Linked DNA regions of Homo sapiens: all the other regions are linked to region 1. The links are contacts of gene promoters, found by promoter capture Hi-C in blood cells and fetal thymus (Javierre and others, 2016). All regions are on one chromosome and are shown on one strand. The core of a region is centred on a gene start or on the middle of the fragment in contact, and the rest is flanking DNA. Distances in the headings are between cores, read along the strand shown.

What was found. Contacts are between HindIII fragments. The CHiCAGO score rates a contact against its expected background, and 5 or more counts as called.
Region 2: a fragment that was not itself captured here is called in contact with the fragment with the promoter of PTPRN in region 1 in 1 of 17 cell types (M2 macrophages); the score reaches 6.1 in M2 macrophages.
Region 3: a contact is called between a fragment that was not itself captured here and the fragment with the promoter of PTPRN in region 1, in 2 of 17 cell types (M0 macrophages and M2 macrophages). The highest score is 6.6, in M0 macrophages.
Region 4: a fragment that was not itself captured here is called in contact with the fragment with the promoter of PTPRN in region 1 in 2 of 17 cell types (M2 macrophages and neutrophils); the score reaches 7.0 in M2 macrophages.
Region 5: the fragment with the promoter of CFAP65-AS1 here is called in contact with the fragment with the promoter of PTPRN in region 1 in 4 of 17 cell types (erythroblasts, M2 macrophages, M0 macrophages and 1 more); the score reaches 7.4 in erythroblasts.

Annotation. Positions count from the first base shown.
Region 1 is chr2:219,308,077-219,310,700 of GRCh38, reverse strand. It overlaps PTPRN (protein tyrosine phosphatase receptor type N), which reads left to right and starts at 1,300. Exons shown (of 23, transcript NM_002846.4): 1 at 1,300-1,483. The coding sequence starts at 1,369. The HindIII fragment of the contact is 26,349 bases long and covers 1-2,624 here.
Region 2 is chr2:218,903,232-218,905,855 of GRCh38, reverse strand. All of the region lies in intron 4 of LINC01494 (long intergenic non-protein coding RNA 1494), which reads left to right. Among named protein-coding and RNA genes, the nearest start is that of WNT10A, 24 kb to the right of the region's middle. The HindIII fragment of the contact is 1,258 bases long and covers 681-1,938 here.
Region 3 is chr2:218,924,153-218,926,776 of GRCh38, reverse strand. The region is part of intron 2 of LINC01494 (long intergenic non-protein coding RNA 1494); the gene reads left to right. LOC124907984 (a long non-coding RNA gene) reads right to left here and starts at 1,885. Exons shown (of 2, transcript XR_007088091.1): 1 at 574-1,885. The HindIII fragment of the contact is 694 bases long and covers 949-1,642 here.
Region 4 is chr2:218,971,529-218,974,152 of GRCh38, reverse strand. No RefSeq gene overlaps it. Among named protein-coding and RNA genes, the nearest start is that of LINC00608, 3.4 kb to the left of the region's middle. The HindIII fragment of the contact is 5,553 bases long and covers 1-2,624 here.
Region 5 is chr2:219,000,915-219,003,538 of GRCh38, reverse strand. CFAP65-AS1 (CFAP65 antisense RNA 1) reads right to left here and starts at 1,324. Exons shown (of 3, transcript NR_046086.1): 1 at 1,239-1,324. CFAP65 (cilia and flagella associated protein 65) reads left to right here. Exons shown (of 35, transcript NM_194302.4): 34 at 267-404; 35 at 518-693. The coding sequence ends at 602. MIR375 (microRNA 375) reads left to right here and starts at 1,831; the gene lies at 1,831-1,894. RefSeq lists an enhancer at 1,258-1,552. The HindIII fragment of the contact is 13,795 bases long and covers 1-2,624 here.

The DNA.
Region 1 (2,624 bases), core at 51-2,550:
GTATGGATGATGAGTATGTAAGTATTCATTATGCATTTCTGTCCTTTTTAAATTTTATTTTATTTTACTGGAAAGCAAGAGAGGAAGGAGATCAAATCTGAACTTAAGAAGCTCACTCCCCTACTTATTGGATGACTAGAGTGGAAGCAAAAGAGCAGTTACTAGCTGATTGCTGCAGTGGTCGTGGTGAAAGAGCACAGTGTTTCAGTTCAGGTAGTGAGGATGGACAGAAGTGGACTGATGGGAGATGTATTTTGCAGGGAGAAACCATAAAATGATTGATAGCCTCGAGGTGGCACAGACGGAGAGAAAGGAGAGTCAAAGCTAATGATGAGGCCAGGCCCGGTAGCTCACACCTGTAATCCCAGCATTTTGGGAGGCGAAGGCCGTTGGATCACCTGAGGTCAAGAGTTCAAGACCATCCTGGCCAACAAGGTGAAATCCCATCTCCAATAAAAATGCAAAAATTAGCCGGGCAAGGTGCTGTGCGCCTGTAATTCCAGCTACTAGGGAGGCTGAGGCAGGAGAATGGCTTGAACCCAGAAGGTGGACATTGCAGTGAGCCAAGATCACGCCAGTATCCAGCCTGGCCAACAGAGCAAGACTCCATCTCAATAAAAAATAAATAAAAGCTAATGATGACAGCTAATATGTATGGAGCATGTAGTATGCACCAGTCCAGTCATCCTTCTAAGTGATCCATATTAGTGTAACGAACAAAATCTTCACAATCACTGTGTGAGGCGGGTAGTAACTATTAACACCTCCACTTTGCAGATCAGGAAACTTGGACGCAGACAAGTTAAACAAGGTGCCCAAGGTCATACCCTTAGTAGATGCCCTGCTAGAACTGGAATCTAGGCATGCCTAACCATTTTTTCTTAAGGAAGAGAACAGTATCTTCAATGACAATGAGTAAGAGTACTTATTCTACCCACTTTTCTGCTTCTTGTCTTCGGGTTTATCGTTCTGGACCCACCTATCTTTCCTGGCCCCCCACTTAACTTAACCCTTTTCACCCACCCTGGGGCGGGGAGACAGAGGTGATCCTAGAAGAGGGCTACAGGGATGGGGCCAAGTGGGAATTCTAGCGAGGCGCCTACTATTTGATGGAGGAGGGATGGGCTAGGTAGGTCCCCCGCTCCGACAGGGCTCTTACGCCATATGTGACGCAAATTAGCTTACGAGCCGGGGGTGGAGGTGTCGTCAGCACCCGCCTGCGGTTGGCCGCGTTGCAGCGAGAGGGGCATGTAGACCCCGCCTCGTAGGGAGGTGGGGAGCGGCAAGCCCCGCCTCAGCCCCTCTGGCAGGCTCCCGCCAGCGTCGCTGCGGCTCCGGCCCGGGAGCGAGCGCCCGGAGCTCGGAAAGATGCGGCGCCCGCGGCGGCCTGGGGGTCTCGGGGGATCCGGGGGTCTCCGGCTGCTCCTCTGCCTCCTGCTGCTGAGCAGCCGCCCGGGGGGCTGCAGCGCCGTTAGTGCCCACGGTCAGGAGGAAACTTGGGCTGGCGGGTGGTGGGGGGCGGGGAGCAGCTTGGGGCCTGGAGCGAAACTCGGTGGGGGTGAGGGTGAAATGTCATGAAGCTCGGGGAGAATATGGGTTGGGGGAGGCATGCGAGATGAGGAAGGTGAGAGGGCGTCTCGGAGGAAAGGGGCGTAGGCCTGGAGGTGGGGCTGGGAATACGGGGGCGGGACCTAAGAGAATTGGGCTCTGGGGAAAATTGCAGGTTCGGGAGAAGGACACGGGGTGCATGTGGGCAGAGGGACTTAGAGACCGGCTGCGAGACCACAGGAGAAGCCACTTGCTCCGAGGCGCCTGGGAGGTGGTGACAGGCGCTGAGGAATGGGAAGGGGAGGTGGCGGGGAGAATGAGGGAACGGTGATCTCTGGGCAGTGGAAGCCTGGGCCGCAGACATAGAGTCCCAGCTGGGCAGAGAGAGAGGCCAGGGTTTCTCCGTAAGCCTAGAGAAGCTGATTGCAGCGATCTGATCTCCTGTAACGGGGGACAGCACGGGGAGGGGGCAGAAGAGGATGAAGAGGGGAGGGTCCTCTCTTGTCCCCCTCCCCACAGCCAGGCCTGGTGCTGACTCACATCTGTGCGGACAGAGACAGTCAGCGCTGACTCACGGACAGGGGGTGGGGGATGGGAGGGTGGCGCGTGGGGGAAGGGGCGCAGCCTCGCCGCCTGGCGCCCTCTTTCCCCACCCGGGCTTGGAGGCCCGAGAGGCAGAGTACTTCCTGTGACGCTGTGGGTTGGCAGAATACAACAGAGGGCTCAGGTCTAGTGGAGAGTCCTCGCTCTGTGACCCCTTCCTCTCTGGTAACCGCCTCCAAGGCCAGCCCTTGGCGGCGCCAGACTCAGAGCTTCAGCACCGCGGACAGCGCCAGCGGCTCGGGACAGCGCGAGGAGAGATGCCTAAGAGACACCCTCCCCAGCCCCACCCATGCCCTCTTTCCCCCGACCGGGGGAAGTGTGCTAGAACCTCTTCTGAGTTCCAGGCCATTATAGGATGCTTTTCCATATTTGGGAAGGAAATTCCTCTTTCAGAATTTGGCCAAAACCTCTCCTGCAGTAATTCTATGAATCTCTCTCCCTGCACCTGGAAGGTTTCTTCCCTATCACTCAGT
Region 2 (2,624 bases), core at 60-2,559, 400 kb after region 1:
TAACCATTTACATCCCACAGTCCTGTGGGTTGACTACAGTCAGCTGGGCAGTTCTCACGTGGGGTCTCTCAAGCAGTTCAGTTAGATGGTGGCTAAGGCTGGAGTCATCTGAAGGCTCAACTCGGCTGGATATCCAAGATGACTTTTTAAAAATTTATTTATTTATTTATTTATTTTTGAAGACACAGCCTCACTTCGTCACCCAGGCTGGACTGTAGTGGCGCAATCTCACTCACTGCAACCTCCACCTCCCAGGTTCAAGTGATTCTCATGCCTCAGCCTCCCGAGAAGCTGGGACTACAGGCATGTGCCACTATGTCTGGCTAATTTTTTGTATTTTTAGTAGAGATGGGGTTTCGCCATGTTGGCCAGGATGGTCTTGAACTCCTGGCCTCAAGTTATCCGCCTGCCTCGGCCTCCCAAAGTGCTGAGATTACAGGTGTGAACCACTGAGCCCAGCCCCAAGATGACTTTTTAAAGTCACATGTCTGGCACCTCATCTGAATTGGCTGGAACTGAAGGGGCCTGCCCAGGCATTACTCTCTCTATACAGCCTTCCCATGTGGCTTGTTTCGGGTTCCTCATAGCATGGTAGTCTCTGGGTAGACAGACCTCATACACGGTGATTGGCTTGCCCCAGAGTGAACATTCCGAGCGACTGAGGCAAAAACTGCAAAGCTTCCTATTCCCTCTCTTCAGCAGTCATGCAGCTTCGCTTCCACAGCACACTCAGTGAAAAGGAAGCATGGACTGGCCCTTTCAAGGGGAGGGGACAATACACAGGTGTGAAGCATGATTCAAGGCGGACCACCTTTGGGGCCCAGCTATTACAGGGGCTGAGGCAGGAAAGGACTGCTCAGGGAACTGCACACAGTCATGCTTCAGTGGAACATGGTGTGGAAGTGAGAAAAAACTGGAGATGATCGTTTGTGGCATATGGTGGAGGGCTTCAATGCTCAGGAACCTGCATATGGATACACACTGGAGTCTTTAGCTGCCCAGCATCTGAGCCCCCTTCATATGTTGGTGGAGCCTCCCTAATGTGAGTCTTAGTGAGAAGTCAGATACTTGCTCACCTGGCCCCTAGCAGGAAGATCACAGCCAAATCAATGCTCCCAGTCAGGACTCTAAATCTTCAACAAGTGACCCAAGGAGGAAGAGGACTGTTTATAATTCATCCCAGAGGTGGCAGCAGCAAGTGCTCAGGGTGGTGGTAGCCATGTGGGAAGCAGCCCCCAAGCCCCTTAATCAGGCTGCACTTGGGACAGGATTTAGCTAAAGTTCTAGCTGCCTAGCTTCTCTTGGCTCCTGCTTGCTTCCTGAGCCTGATTCTTGAGGCTTCCTGTCAATTCTTTGAGTTCCCTGATGTCATCCCAGTAAATTCCTCTTCTACTAAGTGAACCAGAGTCTGTTTCTGTTGTTTGCAATTAAGAACCCAAATTGGTACAAAGATCCATTGAGAGCTTTAGTCAGAGGAAATGACATGATCAGAGCACTTCGTGGGAGAGAAAAACAGAACAATAGGATAGGGATGGATTGAAGAGGAAGAAAGAGGAATGACAGAGGCTAGTTGGAAGGTCGTTGTGATGTTTGAGGTGTGTGGTGAACTAGGATATTGACCATGTGAATGAAGTGGAAGAATAAGCAGATCTTGGCCACTGATTGAATATAGAAAGGAGAAGAGAAGGTGAGAGTCCAAGTTTACACCAGTTTTGAGGTTCAGTGACTAAGAAAATGATGATGTGACAAAGAGAAACAAGCAAGTTAAGGAGAACTGGTTTGGAGGGGAAAGTCATTCATTCACTTATTCAACAAATATTAAATGCCTGGTCTATGCCAAGCACTGTGCTAGGCATTGAGAAAAGAACAGTAAACAAAACAAAGTCTCAGCCCTTAGCAAATACATACATAAGATAATGAATCTGCATTAATAAAGCTTGAGCCGGGCATGGTGGCTCACGCCTGTAATCCCAGCACTTTGGGAGGCTGAGGTAGGTGGATCACTTGGGGTCAGAAGTTCAAGACCAGCCTGGCCAACATAGTGAAACCCCATCTCTACTAAAAATACAAAAAATGAGCTGGGCGTGGTGGCAGGCCACCTGTAATCCCAGCCACTCAGGAGGCTGATGCAGGAGAATTGCTTGAACCTGGGAGGCAGAGGAGTCAGAGGTTGCTGTGAGCTGAGATGGCGCCATTGCACTCCAGCCTGGGTGACAGAGCAGGACTCTGTCTCAAAAATAAAATAAAATAAAATAAAGCTTGAGTGGGTGGTATCACAGGCATACATTAAAACATGTCTAGCTGGCAGCTGGAACTTCAAGAAAGATCACAGGAGACCAGGTGTGGTGGCTCACACCTGTAATCCCAGCACTTTGGGAGGCCAAGATGGGTGGATCACCTGAGGTCAGGAATTCAAGACCTGCCTGGCCAACATGGCGAAACCCTGTCTCTACTAAAATACAAAAATTAGCCCGGCATGGTGGTGCACACCTGTAATACCAGCTACTCAGGAGGCTAAGGCAGGAGAATTGCTTGAACCCAGGAGGCAGAGGTTGCAGTAAGCTGAAATCACACCACTGCATTCCAGCTTGGGTGACAGAGCGAGACTCTGTCTCAAAAGAAAA
Region 3 (2,624 bases), core at 46-2,545, 380 kb after region 1:
GGTCACAAGCTATATGCCTTTGTAATTCTGGCAGATGTTGCCAATCTGCCTTCCACAGGGGTTGTACCAATATACTCCCCTCCCCAAATGTGTACAGGAGCACTTCAAGTCTTTTTGACACCTTAACTTAAACATAGGCTAGAAAAAATATGGCAGGTGTCTGGGTGATTTCTGCATAGAGAAACAAAGATGGGTTGTTTATCAACTCAGTCTTTTTAGCTGGCACCAACACAAGCCTCAGTGCTTTTTCAATAAATTAGTAATCTCTGTGGACTCCCCTGCCCTCACAATTGTCAGGGTACTAGGCTGTCCATGCACAGTCCACATTTCAGAACTTAGTATCTGCAATTAGATCATTCTGTCCACAAACTACTCCTCTCTAGAGGTCTTTTCTCCCCATCTCCACCTGGCAATCTCCTAGTCCTCCCTCAGGCCCAGTTGAGATGCCCCCTTCCTCCATTAAACATTATCTGACACCCCTAGGCAGAATTAGCCACTCTTCTTTGCTCCCGTGGAATTTTGTTCACACCTCAATCATGGCACGAATCACTTGTAATGTAATTATCCACTTACCTGTTCATCTCCCACATTGCATGCCTTAAGGATAGAAACTTCATCTTCATCTCTGGGCCAGCGCTTCTACACATGGTACCTGGCACATAAACACTTCACAGTAAAGCTTGCTGAAATGAAATCAGGCAGGGGCGCAGTTTTGTGGTGCCTGGTGGCAAAATCAAACAGTATTTATTTTTTCCCTTTTCTGGTAGTATCAATGAAAAGGTAAAAAATATGGCACTTCTGAGTATTTCTTTCTATCTTTTTGTGTTCCTGGACTTCTCCTTCTCCTGGAATCTGTCCTGTTCTCAGTGCCTAGAACAATGCCTGGGAAACAACAGGCATTTCATAAATAAATGTTGGATGAATGGGTATCTTTGATCAGAGGAAGCTTCCAAAATGCAGCTGATTTTTTTTTTTTTTTTTTTTTTTTTTTGCCTGCTTGATGTGCCCAAAGGGTATTTCCAAGTCTTTCCAAACCCTCAAGCATGGACCCTCATTTGCCAGTTCTGTGTATTTGGGTTTTATTTCACCTCGAGTTAATGCATGTAAAAGTGCTTAGAACAATGCCAGCCACTTAGTAAGCATTCAATAAGTGCTGACTATTATTTTTTATTATTATTCCCACTAGCCCAAACATGCTCCCATCAGTCCACCCCTTGTGCTGGGCTCTTCATTTCTCTCCCCACCAGTTAATGCGGCCTCAATCCCTGGAAAACATCCATGTAAGCACTCATGTTTCAATTTACCAACTGTGTGACCTTGAGCCAGTTACTTAATCTCTTGGAGGCTCAGTTTCTTCATTTGAAAAATAGGCATTATCTTAATATCTACCTCTAGATAGACATTAGATAGACATTGTTATGAGGATTAAAGAGCCAATCCATAGACACTGCTTACCATCATGCAGGGCTCAGAGTCGGCATTTAGCCAGCATCATGATCATGATCATGATCATCATCATCATCATCACTGCAGATGCCAAACACCTTCCATCTCTTCTTTCTGGGAGGCTCATTCCCACAGCTCTTCTGGCTGATGGTAAACCTTTAACTGGTTCTGAAGTTTGGGGCATCACCAAGAAGCTTGTGTTGACCATGTGATATGGTTTGGCTCTGCATCCCCACCCAAATCTCATCTTGAATTTTAATCCCCACATGTCAGGGGAGGGGTCTGGTGAGAGGTGATTGAATCATGGGCATGGACTTCCCCATTGCTGTTCTTGACTGTGAGTGAATTCTCATGCGATCTGGTTGTTTGAAAGTGTGTGGCACTTCCCCTTCACTCTTTCTCTCTCCTGCTCTGCCATGGTAAGACACGCTTGCTTCCCCTTTAAGTTCTGCCATGATTGTAAGTTTCCTGAGGCTTTCCAGCCATGCTTCCTGTTAAGCCTGCAGAACTGTGAGTGAATTAAACCTCTTTTCTTCACAAATTACTCAGTCTCAGGCAGCTCTTTATAGCAGTGTGAAAATGGACTATACAGAAAATTATTTATAACAGCTATAAAGATATCTGAAAATGTGGAAGCAACTTTGGAACTGGGTAACAGGCAGAGGTTGGAACAGTTCGGAAAGCTCAGAAGAAGACAGGAAGACGTGGGAAAGTTTGGAACTTCATGAAGATTTGTTGAATTGTTTTGATGAGAATGCTGATAGTGATATGGACAATGAAGTCCAGACTCAAGTGGTCTCAGATGGAGATGAGGAACTTATTGAGAACTAGAGTAAAGGTCACTCTTGCTATGCTTTAGCAAAGATACTGGTAGCATTTTTTCCCCTGCCCTAGAGATCTGTGGAACTTTGAACTTGAGAGAGATGATTTAGGGTATCTGCTGGAAGAAATTTCTAAGCAGCAAAGCATTCAGGAGGTAAACTGGCTGTTTCTAAAAGTGTATGCTCATATGCATGAACAAAGAGATGATCTGAAACTGGAACTTACATTTAAAAGGGAAGTACAGCATATAAGTTTAGAAAATTTGCAGCCTGGCCATGTGGTAGAAAAGAAAAATCCATTTTCTGGGGAGAAATTCAAGCCTGCTGCAGAAGTTTGCATAAGTAAAGAAGAGTTAA
Region 4 (2,624 bases), core at 33-2,532, 340 kb after region 1:
AAATGTAGATAATAGTAATGCTTACTTCCCATGATTCTATGTAGACTATTACATGAAATTTGGAAGTGGGAAGTTTTCTTGTTACAGCAACTAACATTACCATAACTGATACCCATATTATATTTGATCTTTACAATAATACCCTGAAGTACACATTATTATTTTCTTCACTTTATAGATTAGAAAACTGAGCCACAGAGGGATTAAGAAACTCGTCTAAAGTCACACAGTGAGAAAGGGCAGTGCAGGATGCGGACCTAGTTTGATTTCAGTGGCAGTGAATTCTCTTAACCACTAAGGATGTGAAAGAGGTTTATATGCTCAAGCCTCCTAGAAGTAATAATAATAAGGGCTGATACTTATTGAACCTTTATGTGCCAGGCACTATTCAAAGAGCTTTACATTCATTTAATTCTTACAACCCTCTGGAGTTGGCTCTAGTGTTATTCCCATTCTATAAATTAGGAAAACTGAGGCACAAAATGTTAAATAACTTGCATGGGATCGCAGAGCTGCCAAGTGGTAGAGATGCATTTCAAGCCCGGCCAGCCCAGTTTTCACTCTATCCCCACCCCTTATTCTCTGATCTTCACTACTGGAAGAATGAGCAGATTCTGAGATTCTGAGAGGCCAAGGAAGTAGCAGAACTATATGCCCAAACCCCAGCTCAACCTCAAGCCAGGTGCTCTATTCCAGCATTCACCAGGGGTTCCAGACAAATAGCAAAGTGAGAAATGCATTTTAGAAGTCTTGTGGTCTACAGTGACCCTTGCAAATATCTCGAACAGCATGGTGGAGTAGAAGGAACCCAGAAGGGCGTGGCTTCAGACTCATCCACTGCCTATTCCCTGTGAGACTGAGAAGGCTGCTTACTCTCTGTGAGGCTCAGTGACCTCATAAAATGGCAACACTGATCATACCTGCCTTGTTGGTTTGCTGCAAGGACAGAGCCTGTGCCTAGAGAGTCCAGCACAGAAAGCTGCTCTATAACTGTCATCCCCCACACTGATCAGCCCAGAAGCAAAGACCCGCCTTGCAAGTTCATCCCATTTCCCACCAGTCTAATCCTCCAATTCTACACCCAGTTCTCCCTCCATGAGGCAGAGATGCTCTTTCCTTGAGATTCCTTCCTTCCTTGAGGTCAGAGAAGAAGGAAGTAACTAAAGGAGGCTGGAAGGCCAGACCTTGAGCATTAGGTTCCTTTTTTGGAAGAGGAGGTCAAGTTGCTTAGCAACACAGCAGGAGGTTGTCAGGGAGGCTTCAGGCAGCACTGTCCGTTTTTATCCTGCAGTATGGAGAGATCTGGAGCAACACAAGATAGGGAGATGGATGGGAAAAGTGACAAAAGATCCCAGGCTCCGATGATAACCTCTTGGAGTCAGCCTCCTTTCCTATGATCACCTTCCCAATCCCCCAACCTTTCCCCCTGGTTTTCTACTTTTGACACACAGTTCTAGGGCATCTTGCACACACATTTGTGCAATGGCCATGTCTATGACCATGAACATGAGGGCCAGACTCAGGACCACCTTGTATTTATTATATGCTTTACAACTTACAGATCACATCATAGACACAATTTCAAATGATACTTGCAGCAGCCTCATTAATCATGGGAAAAGGCAAGGCATATGGCTCATGCCTATAATCCCAGCACTTTGGGGGACCAAGGTGGGCAGATAACCTGAGGTCAGAAGTTCGAGACTAGCCTGGCCAACATGGCGAAACCCTGTCTCTACTAAAAATACAAAAATTAGCTGGGCATGGTGGCGGGTGCCTGTAATTCCAGTTACTTGGGAGGCTGAGGCAGGGGAATCGCTTGAACCCGGGAGGCGGAGGTTGCAGTGAGCCCAGATCATGCCACTGCACTCCAGCCTGAATAACAGAGCAAGACTCCATCTCAAAAAATATATATAATATATATTCTTATATATTATACATTATTATATATAACATATTAATATTATACATTATTGTATATAACATATTAACATTATACATTATTGTATATAACATATTAACATTATACATTATTGTATATAACATATTAACATACATTATTGTATATAACATATTAACATCATACATTATTGTATATAACATATTAACGTCATACATTATTGTATATAACATTAACGTCATACATTATTGTATATAACATATTACCGTCATACATTATTGTATATAACATATTAACGTCATACATTATTGTATATAACATATTAACGTCATACATTATTGTATATAACATATTAACGTCATACATTATTGTATATAACATATTAACGTCATACATTATTGTATATAACATATTAACGTCATACATTATTGTATATAACATATTAACGTCATACATTATTGTATATAACATATTAACGTCATACATTATTGTATATAACATATTAACGTCATACATTATTGTATATAACATATTAACGTCATACATTATTGTATATAATAATATATATCAATATTCTATATATAATATATCAATATTCTATATATAATATATCAATATTCTATATATAATATATCAATATTCTATATATAAAATATATCAATATTATATATATATATATATATGTAGTGGGAAGATGATCATGATTCCTATATAACAGATGAGG
Region 5 (2,624 bases), core at 75-2,574, 310 kb after region 1:
CTAAACTTGGCCCTGAGATGCCTACTACATCGCCTGGGTTTGAATCCCACCCCTTAAACCAGCAGCATATTTGGCAACTTGGAATCTTTTAGCCACACTTGGAACGTCCGTAACATTGAAACAAGAATGCCCCATAGTGTAGTGGATGAGGGGAGTCGAATGGGAATCTCCGTAGAGCTCGCGGCACAATGTACCGCACGGACAGGCGAGCGAGGAGGCGCGCGGGCACTGCGGCCGCCCTCATGCTAGCCCCCGCCCCCTCGCAGGCTCCCGGCCTTCGCCAACCTGCAGGAGGCGCTGCTGGAGAACATGATCCAGAACATCCTGGTGGAGGCGAGCCGCGGGGAGGTGGTACTCACCTCGCGGCCACGCGTCATCGCCCTGCCGCCGTTCTGCGTGCCCAGGTAAGGGCGCCGGGACCAGCGGCCGCGCAGACCGCGCGAGAGGGGCCACGGGGGCAGCCAGGCTCTGCCCGAAGCCTCGCCCCCACGCCTACCTGGGACTTTTTGTCTTCCAGGAGTCTGACCCCGGACACGCTGCTGCCGACGCAGCAAGCAGAGGTACTCCACCCGGTGGTGCCACTTCCTACCGACCTTCCGTAAATGCCCGCGCCCAGCCTCTCCGACATGCCGCTAGGGGTCACGCCTGGCCCCCTCTCCACCGCCAGTAAAAGCATCTAGTCTTTTTTCTGTATCTACCTTGACTTTATTTCCCCGACGAGGGGGAACGCGCGCGCGAGCTCTGAGAGGGAAGGATGGCAGGGAGCAGCCCGGGCGGACTGCAGAGGCGCGGCGGGAACTTAGGGCCCGGGAGGATGCACCTCTCCGCCCACACTGCAGCTGGACTGAGACCTGGCCGCTAGCTGCCGGCCGCTGGACCGGGTCTGGCCAGTGGAGGGCGCTCCGGACGGGGCCTGGCTGGCCTTTGCCCCAGCGCACCTTGGTGCACAGTAACTGAGTGCCAGGCCTGGCCAGCGAAGCAGGTGTCCACTGGGCAGGGCGGCCACCCCTCACCTTTCCGCGCCGCGCCTGCTCGGAGGCTTAGCACCCCCAGGGCCAGCCCCTTAGCATTTGCCGAGCTCCGAGTGCCCAAGAGGCTGGGGAGGAAGAACTGAGGCACGCCGCGGAGGGCCAGGAACTAGGCTGGGGCGGGTCGAGGTCACCACTGGATTTCGGGCCACAGACCCTGCTAAGCGACTCCCACTGTGAATCAGTCCTCAGACGAGGATGGATACCCACCTCTCGGTTCCTCCTAACCCCCGCCCGGGAGCTTCTGTCCTCTGCTTCTCGGCTCCTCCCTCCCAGAGGCAGGTGGGTGGAAAAGTGACATCTGGTGTTGTTCCAGAGGCGCCCAGGGTCCCCAGCACCCTCCCCTCCGCCCCCGCCACCAAGGCCTCGGAGAAGCTCCGGTCTCAGAGCCCGGGCGGGGGAGGGGGGAGCGCTCCGCCTCCATGAGTCAATATTTGCCCCGAGCAAACGGGCGCCTGGACAGGTGTGAGTGTGTGTGTCTGGGGGCGGGGACTGAACAGGCAGTATAAGAGCACACGGAGCCCGGGCTCCGGGACAAGCTCCAAGGCGTGGGCTGGGGACGAAGCCAAGCTAGGCTGGGCCGGGCGGAGGGGCCAGGAAAGCCGGGCGGAGGGTGGCTGGGAAAGGAGGGGCGGGCCAGGTGCGCACCTGCGGTGGCCGCCGCGGCCGCCGACGTGTCAGCCGCAGATGCGTTCAGGTGAGGGCGGAGGCTAGCGGGGCGCTGTGCAGCACTGAGCTCGCGGAAGACCAGGACCAGGAGATCACCGAGGGCGACCGCCAGGCCCCGGGCCCTCCGCTCCCGCCCCGCGACGAGCCCCTCGCACAAACCGGACCTGAGCGTTTTGTTCGTTCGGCTCGCGTGAGGCAGGGGCGGCCTCTCAGCACCAGCCCGGGGGCCGGCCTGATCGCCACGCAGGCACCTGCCGCCGCCACCGCCACCGCCATCTCAACCGTACGGGTGGGAGAGGCTGTGCGCCGCTCCAGGGGAGATCCGGCTCCCATCCGGCCCCACCCGCCCTGCCTTGCCCTGCCCGCAGCTTCTGGGCTGCCAGGCTCCATTCTGCGTCGTAATACGGGCTGAGCCGGCTCCAGCGGGTGGCGAAGGGGGCCGTGGCCCAGAACAGAAACCCTTCTGGAGGTGGAAACCCGGATTCTAGTCCGCCTCTGTCCCCGCGACTTCTATGGCCTTGGGCAAGTCATTTCCCGGCCTCTTGGTTTTCCCATTTGCTCAGTGAACGGTTGGTCTGGCCTCCCGCAGGGGCTAGGCCCTCCCCAGCCTCCTGTCCCGGTTCCTGGGCTCCTGGTCATGCTGGGGAAGATGCAGGCCCTCACGGAGTTGGAGCCAAGGCTGAGGTGTGGAAAATCTGGGCGGGGGAAGCTGAGGGCCACCATGGAGCCTCAAATCCACTCCTCGGATCTCTGTGGTGCTGCTGACATCCTGAGATGTCACTCCCTGACACTCCCTTGGTCCCTCTTTCAGTCTAAAAACGTCTGAGACAGTCAGACTGACTGAAAAGGACAAGCCCCCAGGCACAGCGGTTCACCACCTTCCTCAAACCTCAGAATCCCACATCCTCGCTTCCATCAGCTGGGGTG